Linked DNA regions of Homo sapiens: region 2 is linked to region 1. Evidence: promoter capture Hi-C in human tissues and cell types (Jung and others, 2019). All regions are on one chromosome and are shown on one strand. The core of a region is centred on a gene start or on the middle of the fragment in contact, and the rest is flanking DNA. Distances in the headings are between cores, read along the strand shown. Region 1 holds the start of LTK (leukocyte receptor tyrosine kinase). Region 2 holds the start of MGA (MAX dimerization protein MGA).

Evidence for each region. Contacts are between HindIII fragments. The study calls those that stand out against the background at their distance.
Region 2: a fragment that was not itself captured here is called in contact with the fragment with the promoter of LTK in region 1 in 1 of the 25 tissues and cell types used here (IMR-90 fibroblasts).

What each region holds. Positions count from the first base shown.
Region 1 is chr15:41,510,480-41,515,288 of GRCh38, forward strand. LTK (leukocyte receptor tyrosine kinase) reads right to left here and starts at 3,348. Exons shown (of 20, transcript NM_002344.6): 1 at 3,188-3,348; 2 at 2,498-2,641; 3 at 2,228-2,399; 4 at 1,636-1,786; 5 at 1,338-1,484; 6 at 943-1,099; 7 at 685-867. The coding sequence starts at 3,230. RefSeq lists an enhancer at 2,180-2,927 and a silencer at 2,634-2,713. The HindIII fragment of the contact is 13,334 bases long and covers 1-4,809 here.
Region 2 is chr15:41,656,140-41,660,680 of GRCh38, forward strand. MGA (MAX dimerization protein MGA) reads left to right here and starts at 4,266. Exons shown (of 24, transcript NM_001400225.1): 1 at 4,266-4,386. The HindIII fragment of the contact is 6,605 bases long and covers 1-4,541 here.

The DNA of each region.
Region 1 (4,809 bases), core at 2,098-4,597:
AGACAGAATTTCCCTCTTGTCGCCCAGGCTGAAGTGCAATGGAGTGATCTCGGCTCACTGCAACCTCCGCCTCCCAGGTTCAAGCAATTCTCCTGCCTCAGCCTCCAGAGTAGCTGGGATTACAGGCTCCCGCCACCACGCCCGGCTAATTTTTGTATTTTTAGTACAGACAGGGTTTCACAGGTTGGCCAGACTGGTCTCGAACTGGTGACCTCAGGTGATCCACCTGCCTTGGCCTCCCAGAGTGCTAGAATTACAGGCGTGAGCCACCAGGCCCAGCTGATAATGTGCATTTCGAACAACTTAGGTTGTGGGGATATTACCTGTTCCTGGACCACACTTTGAGAACCACTGACTTAACCCAATCCTGCCTTTCTGCCCCTTTGCTCAGCTTGCTCACTCGGCCAGCTCTAAGTTCTGAAGACTGCTGCAGAACAAGGCAGGGACCTGCTGTGATGGGAAAGATCCTGGATTAAACGGAAATCTAGGGAGTCCTGTCTGCATGCTGATTTGCAGTGTATTTGACCTCCTTTTCTAAGAGCTCCTGCTTTTTGTTTGGAGCTGCTGAGCAGGGCTTAATGCCTCTCCCACACCTATCCTCCCGAGGGCTCCGGCCTGTACTTAGGTTCTAACATCACCTCACCCTCGGGCCTGCTCAGCTGCCCTCTCCAACGGTGCACCTACCCCTGTAGCCGCCGCCGCCTCCGCCCGCAGTGCAGGCCCCGCCGCCGCCCCCGAAGCCGCCGGCCGCGGCCCAGCCAAGGGTCGCCCAAGCCTCGGAGCAGCCCTGGCCGCCCTCCGCCCCCTCCTGCAGTGAGCGGCCGGCCTGCGGAGAGGGAGCCCGCGACGTCCAGCCGCCCCCACCACCTGCAGAGCGACAGCAGGAAGGTTGGCAGCCACACGGGGAGCACGCCCGCCTCTCCCCGCGGCCCGCGCCCTCACCTGCCGCCCCGCCTCTCCCGCCGCTCCCGGGCGCCTCCGAGCGGTTCTCCAGTTTCTCGGGGGAGGCCTGAGTCCGGCCTCGGTCCCGCGGCCTCAGGTAGGCCCGACCGCCGCCTCCGGCCGCCACCAGCAACGGTTCCAGCTCGCCAGCGCGCACCTGTGGGGCCAGCGGCGTGTTCCAGGAAGCGCCCTCCAGCTGTCCAGGGGCACTGCCACTGGGAGAGGGCTCCCGCCCAGGGGGCCTGGATAAGGGCAGGGGCCCCCAGCCCAGCCCAGGCCAGCCCAGCCCAGCGCAGGGATAGGGGGACCCCAAGGGACGGACGGAGAGCCGGTGCGTGAGCGCCCCTGGGGAGAGGATTGGGACCCCAACGCTGAGCGCCGAAGGGAGCACGTACCCGGAAAACGTAGGTGGCGCCCCCGCCACCCCCGCCACCTCCCGCCCAGCGCCGCGACCCCGGGACCCCTTCGCTCCCATCCATCGCCGCGTGCTCTTCAACGGCTCGAGACTCCCCGAGGCAGACGAGCTGGCTCTCCGGGCTACCCTGCGGGCAGCGGGGGAGGGAATCGGCGGGGCCCGGGAGCCTCCCCTCGCTGTGCTGGTGACCCGGCACCGAGGAAAGCACGCTCCCCCGGCCCCCAGGCAGCCCTCGCCCCCGGCGCCGGCGCCGCCCCATCCCCACTGGCTGCGCTCACTCCGGGACAGGCGTCCTCTCCCTGCTGCCCCACCAGGATGTACAGCGACTCCCCGAGACCGAGGGAGAAGATTGCTGAGACGAAGACGCCATGCGCCCGCGACAGGTGGTTCTTGGCGCCTTTGCCGCCCGCGGCTCCGTAGGCTGAGATCCTGCGGGGAACGGACGGTGAGTCCCCGGCCTTCGGTGCTCAGGCCGGCCGCTCCGGGCAGAAGTTGGCGACAGAGGAGGCTCCAGAATTATTTTTTATCTGAGGGACTTGGAGGCTGCAATCGACTCTGACGGGATGGGAAGGGTAGGTTTGCACACCGAAAAATCAGATATTACACTTATTTCAGGAGGGTTCGTGGAAATGTGGGGAGGCTCAAGCACCCCTTGGCGCCGCCCTGGTTGGGGGCCTTCCGCTCGGTGTAAGAGGTTCCGGGTAAGGGCTAACTCGGTGGCGACTACTGCCACCTTGAAGGGCACTCAAGGTGGACCTCCCCGCGGAATAGTCCAAGACGCAAGTCGGTGCGCACGTGGACTTCGTTACCCTGAGGGTGAAACCTCCAACTAGCAGGTCACTGTCCACCCTACCTCCGCCGTGCACTTACAGATACTGGCCAGGGCCCGGCACGCGCCACAGCTGCACGCCTCTCAGCTGCCCGGCGGCCCCCACGGTCACCACCACGCTGGTCCCCGCGTACGCCCCGTCACATTGTGTCTGTGTGGGCCCATGCCGGCCGCTGGCCCCGCAGGTAGAAAACAGCCAAGACCCCTCGGTGCCTGAGAGCAAGGAGCGAGGCAAGGGTCGTCGAGCCCCTGGCTGGGCCAGAGGGGTCTGGTATGGTGAGCGAAAGAGGAAGGAGGCGTCTAAAGCTCACCCGGAGAATTCAGCGGGGAGGCTGGCTCCAAGATACTAGGCGGGGCGCTGACTTTCGGGTCCCGGGGGCTGGGACTTGCCAGCGGCAGGGGCGAGGACCGCAGAAAAGTCTCCTGGGACCCCGGGCTAGAGCAGAGAATGGCGCCTGAAAGGTGTTGGGAGAAGGCGCAGGACGTTAAGGCGGGTGGAAATAGGATATGAAAGAAAGAGAGAACCCCGCAACAGCTGCCCTTGCGGTCGCGGCCACACCCGTCACCCGGCCCAGCCGCGCTCTCAGCCTGGAAGCCACTACCCGACTCCGGTCGCAGAAGCCCCGCGGGTGCGCGCTGATAGGTCTGCCAGTTTCTCTCCTCGAGCGCCTTTCCCAGTGAATAACTTAGGGGCCGCAATGAATTTGGTCCTGCAGCCTCCCCAATGCTTTCCTCAACTTAGATTGGTGGCCCCGCCCCAAGGCGGTGCTGAGACCCCAAAGAATGTTCCTCCTTCCCAAGCTGCGTGATCCAGACTCTGGGATTCGCACGCACTTGGCGCTTCTCGGCCCGCACTCCAGAAGCACGGACCGGAGAAATTTGGCTGTGAGAGTTCGAGGCCTCTGGAGGAACCACTGACACCTGGCCTGTTGACCGGCCACCCCCAAGCCTAGGAAAGTGCCTCAGGCTGGACGGTCCCCTGACCGCCAGATAGCACTTACCCGCGGCTCCGAACCACACCAGCAGCTGTCCCCAGCAGCCCATCCCTGTTGGGTCCACCCGGCAACAAAAGCCCTTGCGGTCGCGGCCACACCCCTGTCAACCTAAAGTTGACAGCTCATTTTGCCACGGCAGCCCTGGCCACCACTTACAGGGGTGTGCTGCCGCTGGCGAGACACTCCCCGGACCTAAAGCTGGTCTGGCCACGCCCACCTCAGACCCCAGGACGCCAGAGGAGGAAAGGGAGGGGCGTGTGGGCAGCGAGGTCCCTACGCTTCCGGGAGGAGCCTTAAGGAGTCCCCACCCAGGGGTTCTAGTTTCCAGCCGTCAGATGTGCCGCAGCCTGCTGGGAGCTCCGGTAGGTTTGAGGCCGGAGAGGAGGTGCCCCACGCTTAAAGTGGGAGCCACACCTCGGACACCAGGTGGGGGCTTCCAGGTTCCTGAGGACAGGAGCAGTGGAGTGTGCACTTCATTTGTGGCAGTGGTGGTGGTGGTGAGTGTGTGGCATGCGTCACCACACGTGGGAAGTACTCTAAACTGCTCCAAGTAAGGCCTCATTACCTGCCATTACTTGTGCCTTTTAGTGGTGCCTTTGTGACTGCAAGGCTGAACCTCATTGCTACTCCCAGAAACCTGGATCTCTGTGTTTGCCTCATATAATTCCGTTGCCTGTGTTACCCCTGTGCACAGCCTCTCACTGTGATGGGGTGAAAGACTGGACCAGACGTTAGAAGATCCGAGTGTTTTTAGTAGCACTGAAGGTCAATAGATGATAGGTAGGTAGACCGATCGATCGATTGATCTTGAGCACTAGTACTGGCACCTCTGGTCAATGGGTGATGTAGCACAGGCCACAACTGCCCTGAGAGTTTCCCCACCACCTGCAAAATCATATGAAGGGAAATTGCTCTGTAAGGTACCCTACAAATGTGGGAGCCACTCCCTTCAGGTAGTTTTGTGTCTTGAGTCTTCGATCATTTGCTTAAATGATCATTTGCCGGGTGCGGTGGTTCATGCCTGTAATCCTAGCACTTTGGGAGGCTGAGGCGGGCAGATCACCTGAGGTCAGGAGTTCGAGACTAGCTAGACCATCATGGCAAAATCCCGTCTCTACTAAAAATACAAAATCAGACACACGTGGTAGCGCACGCCTGTAATCCCAGCTACTCTGGAGGCTGAGGCAGGAGAATGGCTTGAACCTGGGAGGCAGAGGTTGCAGAGACGAGATCGCACCATTGCACTCCAGCCTGGGCAACAAGAGCAAAGCCCCATCTCAAAAAAAAAAAAAAAAAAAAAATCCTAACTTGAAAGTCTGAGACCTATGTTTAATACAAAATACTTCAAAAGAGAAGTTATAGTAGTTAGCTACTTGGTAAAGTCTGAGTATAATTCAAGGTGTAAACAGAACAGTGATTTTGTAAAAAGTCTGGTCTCAGCCAGGCGTGGTGGCTTACACCTGTAATCCCAGCACTTTGGGAGGCCAAGGGGACGGTGGGGGTGGGGTGGATCACAAGGTCAGGAGTTCAAGACCAGCCTGGCTAAGATGGTGAAACCCCGTCTCTACTAAAAATACAAAAATTAGCCGTGCGTGGTGGCAGGTGCCTGTAATCCCAGCTACTTGGGA
Region 2 (4,541 bases), core at 867-3,366, 140 kb after region 1:
TGGAAGACCTTACCTGATCATGAGGGTTAGGGCAAGCGTCTTAAAGAAAATACATTTAAACTTAAGTATGAAGGGTGAATAGAGTTAGGCTGGAGGCATCTGGGGCAATCTTCTTAGGCAAGGGTGAGGAACGTGGTTATGTGGGCTTGAGATGTGGGGCAGCAAGGAGGAATGGTGTTTCTTTCTCTCTCTCCCTCTCCTCTCTTCTCTCTCTCTCTCTCTCTCTCTCTCTCTCTCTCACACCCAGGCTGGAGTGCAGTGGCATGATCTTGACTCACTGCAACCTCTGCCCCCTGGGCTTAAACAGTCCTCCCACCTCACCCTCCTGAGTGGCTGGGACCGCAGATGCACACCACCAGGCCCAGCTATTTATTTTTATTTTTATTTTTATTTTATTTTTGGTAGAGACAGGGTCTTGCCATGTTGCCCAGGCTGCTCTCAAACTCCTGAGCTCAAACAGTCCGTCCCACCTCAGCCTCCCAAAGTTCTGGGATTACAGGCATGAGCCAGTGGGTGTTTCTTAATGAATGTTGATTATATTCCGTAACATTTCTGTCCTTCTTTTCATCCTCCCTTCTCTTAACATTTTCTAAAACATGCTTTTAATATTACTATGCTGATTAAGAAACTCTTTTCTTTCTTTAAGAGACAGGGTTGGGGGGTAGGTCTCACTGTTGCCCAGACTGGAGTGCAGTGGCACAATCACAGCTCACTGTAGCCTCGACCTCCTGTGGTCAAGCATTTCTCTCACTTCAGCCTCCTGAGTAGCTGGGACTGCAGGCACCACCACACTTGGCTAATTTTTTAATATTTTGCAGAGATGGGTTCTCACTATGTTGTCCAGGCTGGTTTTGAACTCCTGGGTTCATGCGATCCACCTGCCTTCTGCCTCTGCCTCCCAAAGTGCTGGGATTACAGGCGTGAACCACTGCGCCCAGCCCAGAAAGTCTTAAAAGTTCCTCTTTGGGTACATTATTAGCTCCTTGAAGGCAGATATCTTGCCATTTTTAATTCCTTAAATCGTTAATTTTTAATTCCTTAATTCCTTCATTACAGATATTGGTGGCAATCATACTTTGCCCCCCAGCATGACTTGATTTCAGTTGTAGTACTAAATGGTGGGCAAGGATGGAGTTGTCTATGATTCTCTTTTTACCCTCTGCCTAGGACCTGAATTTTCAGGTTGGCTAGTGAAGGCCCTTTTTTTTTTTTTTTTTTTTTTTTTTTTTTTTGAGATGGAGTCTTGCTCTGTCGTTCAGGCTGGAGTGCGGTGGCGCGATCTCGGCTCACTGCAACCTCCACCTCCCTTGTTCAAGCAATTCCCTTGCCTTAGCCTCCCGTGTGGCTGGGATTATGGGCGCACGCCACCATGCCCGGCTAATTTTTTTATATTTTTAGTAGAGACGGGGTTTCACCATGTTGGCCAGACTGGTCTTGAACCCCTGACCTTAGGCAATCTGCCTGCCTCGGACTCCCAAAGTGCTAGGATTACAGGACTGAGCCACCGCACCTGGCCGAAGGACTTTTTGTAAAAACAAAACAAAACAAAAAAAAAAACAAGCATCTTTTGCAACTCAGTCTGTATGTAGCCCTTATTTTATGAATGTTCTTTATTATATTGATATTTTAAACAAGGCCATAGTCCAGGAGTTTGTTCATGGTAGTGGTTTCATCTGAAGAGTGAGGTCTTTTTGTCAGTTGACAGAGGATGTTTTAGAAATCAGAACCGAAAGGATTGGATCTGAATAGATTGGATGAGGAAGTTTGTCTTGGTGGATTCTGTTACTTAAGTTGTGCCAATCTTTGGGGTTCTGCTGTAGACATCTGAAAAGTGCATGGGGTGCCAGCCTTTCCCCTATCCTCAGCATATAGTAGGCACTCAGATATTTGCTGAATAGGAAAAGTGTGCATGTAAATGAGATAGTGCCTATGTGTTTATAGAACAATCTAGGATCAAAACTGTGTACATTCTAGGCCAGACTGTTTAATTGCATGCATTCTCTCTAGTTTTTTGTTTGTTTCCCCTTAATATTCAGAAAAATCTACTTGAACGTGCAGTCTAGGAAAATCAAGGCAAAGACTTTTGTGTTAGGCTGGACCAATAAGTTGAGCTATGATAACTGAAAAAGGTGGAACTTAGGAGCATCACTTTAGCAGTTAGCTTGGCATTCTTAAACCTTCGGTTATATATGGATGCCTTTTAAAGGAGGAAATTTCTTACATTATCCAAAGTATACAACCAAGAACTTTAGTATGAGAATGCTGCATTAAAAGTTGAATGTAACCATTTAAGTGGTTACTCAAAGCAAACAAAAAATAAAAAAGAAAAACAAGCGGTTACTTGGTACCTGCATGATGGTAAATCCAAACTGGATCCCTGAAATGTGTGTGGTGGTATGATTATTTTTAGAATATCATCTAAAAACACTTAAAAGTTCTCATAGGACCCTCAGATTCTTGACATCTCCCGACCTCTCTAGGTTAGGCGGACTCCACTTTGAAAAACTATGGATAGTTTTCCTCTCCCACCGAGATCTGTAGTACTGAATCTTCAAAGTTCAGCGTTTTTTTTTTGTTTTGTTTTTTTAAAGTATCTAGTATTTAGTTATATGTTTGCCTGGTGTAGGGAAGGAGTACCAAAAGAGAATCTCCATTCCCCTTCTTCCCAAGTTGTCCTCACAGATCCCCCAGTTAGAGAGATCATTTGGGTTAACTTGTCTCTTTGGGGATGCATGGTTGTTAACCAGTCATTCACACCTTATGATCATATATTTTAATGCTAAATCAACATAAATTTACTTCTTCCCCAGAAAATGGAAAATTTTTATGAGGAAACCTCAGATCCTTGAGAGGAAGGCATTCTTGGTAAGGTGGGAGATTCTGACAGGGCAGCTTGTAGGAAAGAAGTTCTTGGGTTCAGGGAAGAGGAGGAAGGTGTTAAACTGTTACTTTTCAATTTTGCCTAGGATCTTGAATGCTCTTGCTGACCGTGCCTGACTTGGGGTTTCAGAATGCCTTCAGAAGTCTCTAAAGTAGCCTACACGTTTTCTAGTTCAGACTATTCCAGCAGTTTCTGTCAATGTTGTTGTATATCTCCTCAGGAAGAGCAAAGTGTAGAGAAATATGACCTTCCTAAGTAAAAAGTAGGTCAGATCAGTAGTGTTGGATAAGCCTCCTTCTGTTGACTCCTTCCTTAGTCTTCTCATTCTCCTTCATAGTGTTTTGTATTGTCACATAGCATGTCACGTAGTAGGTTCTCAGTGCTTGCTAATTCTTATCAAAGAAGGCAGTTTTGGATCATTGACCACAAAATCTGCTCTCCTACTCCCTACTTCTTTTTTGCCTTTTAAGAAACTACGCTTCCTTTTTACTGGTGTCAGGAGCACAGAAGAAAGAACAGCTGGTAAGGAGTAGAGAAGGAGAAAGAAAACTACTTTTTGAAGGTTAGGAGAAATACTGTCCATTGATTTACTTCAGCAACTGCCTGACACATAATAGATATTCACTAATACTTTCTTTGCACCTCATAGCTTAAATGTCTTGAAGAAACAAAAATTGAATGCACAGGATCAAGGCACTAAAGCTTAGATAACACACTCCTGCATCGTTTCCCTGTTTTATCAAGATATCTTTCATCTTTATATCCGGCAATTTAGTGGCAACTCTTCGCTTTCCAACTGCGCACTGAGTCTTTCGGTCTCCTCCCCATTTTCCTAGTCGTCTTCGGTTGTGGATGTTGTAAACTCGACCATCCGTCTCTCAAGGTCTTTGGCTTCAAGGTTTCCCAATGCTCTGGAGCTGTCCAAGCCCCGGTACTCCGGGGTGGAAGACCTCAGATTCATTTGACGGGCTTGTGGAGGTTGGGGGTCTGCGGAGCCCCGTGTGGGTGGGGCTGGGCGCGGCCGGGGCGGAGCCGGCGAGGAGCCCTAGGGAAAGGGTGAAAGGCACAGTTGAGAAAGGCCCGCCGGGCATTGGTTTCACAGTTTCCACGAAGGCTTCGTGTGCAAGCCTGAGGAGTTTAGGTGCCTCCCTCCTGCCTCGCCTTTCTTGGTTCTAGAACCTTCAGTAGGCTTTTCTGGGTTGCAGGGACCCGGAAAAGCAGCGGCTTCCACTCGGGGGGCGGGTCCCAAGGGTCTTGCTGCTGCTCTGGGGCCGTTTGGACTCCTGGTGTTGGGGGAGGGGTCAGGGAGGTGCTGCTCGCGTCTCCTTTTGCGCCTGCGCGGCGGGCTCCGAGCGGGTAGGAGCGCGTGCGCGGTGACGTGGACGTCCGGTGCGCGCGCGCAGGCTCTTCAGCTGGAGCGGACACACGGTGTGCGAACCGAACAGAATAACCCGCCCCCAGCGGGATGTGAAGGACTCCGGGTGAGGCCGGCCACGCCCCGCACGGTAACTCTCGGGCCTGGGTGGAGGGCATCGCTTAGTACTGGCCCGATTGGAGTTTTTCGAGAGTTTGAAGCTCTTGTGTATTTGAACGGCGTGAGAAACGTTCCGCTGAGAGAGCTTCGCACGCCCTCGCCAGGCCGGGCCTTGCGCAGGGCCGC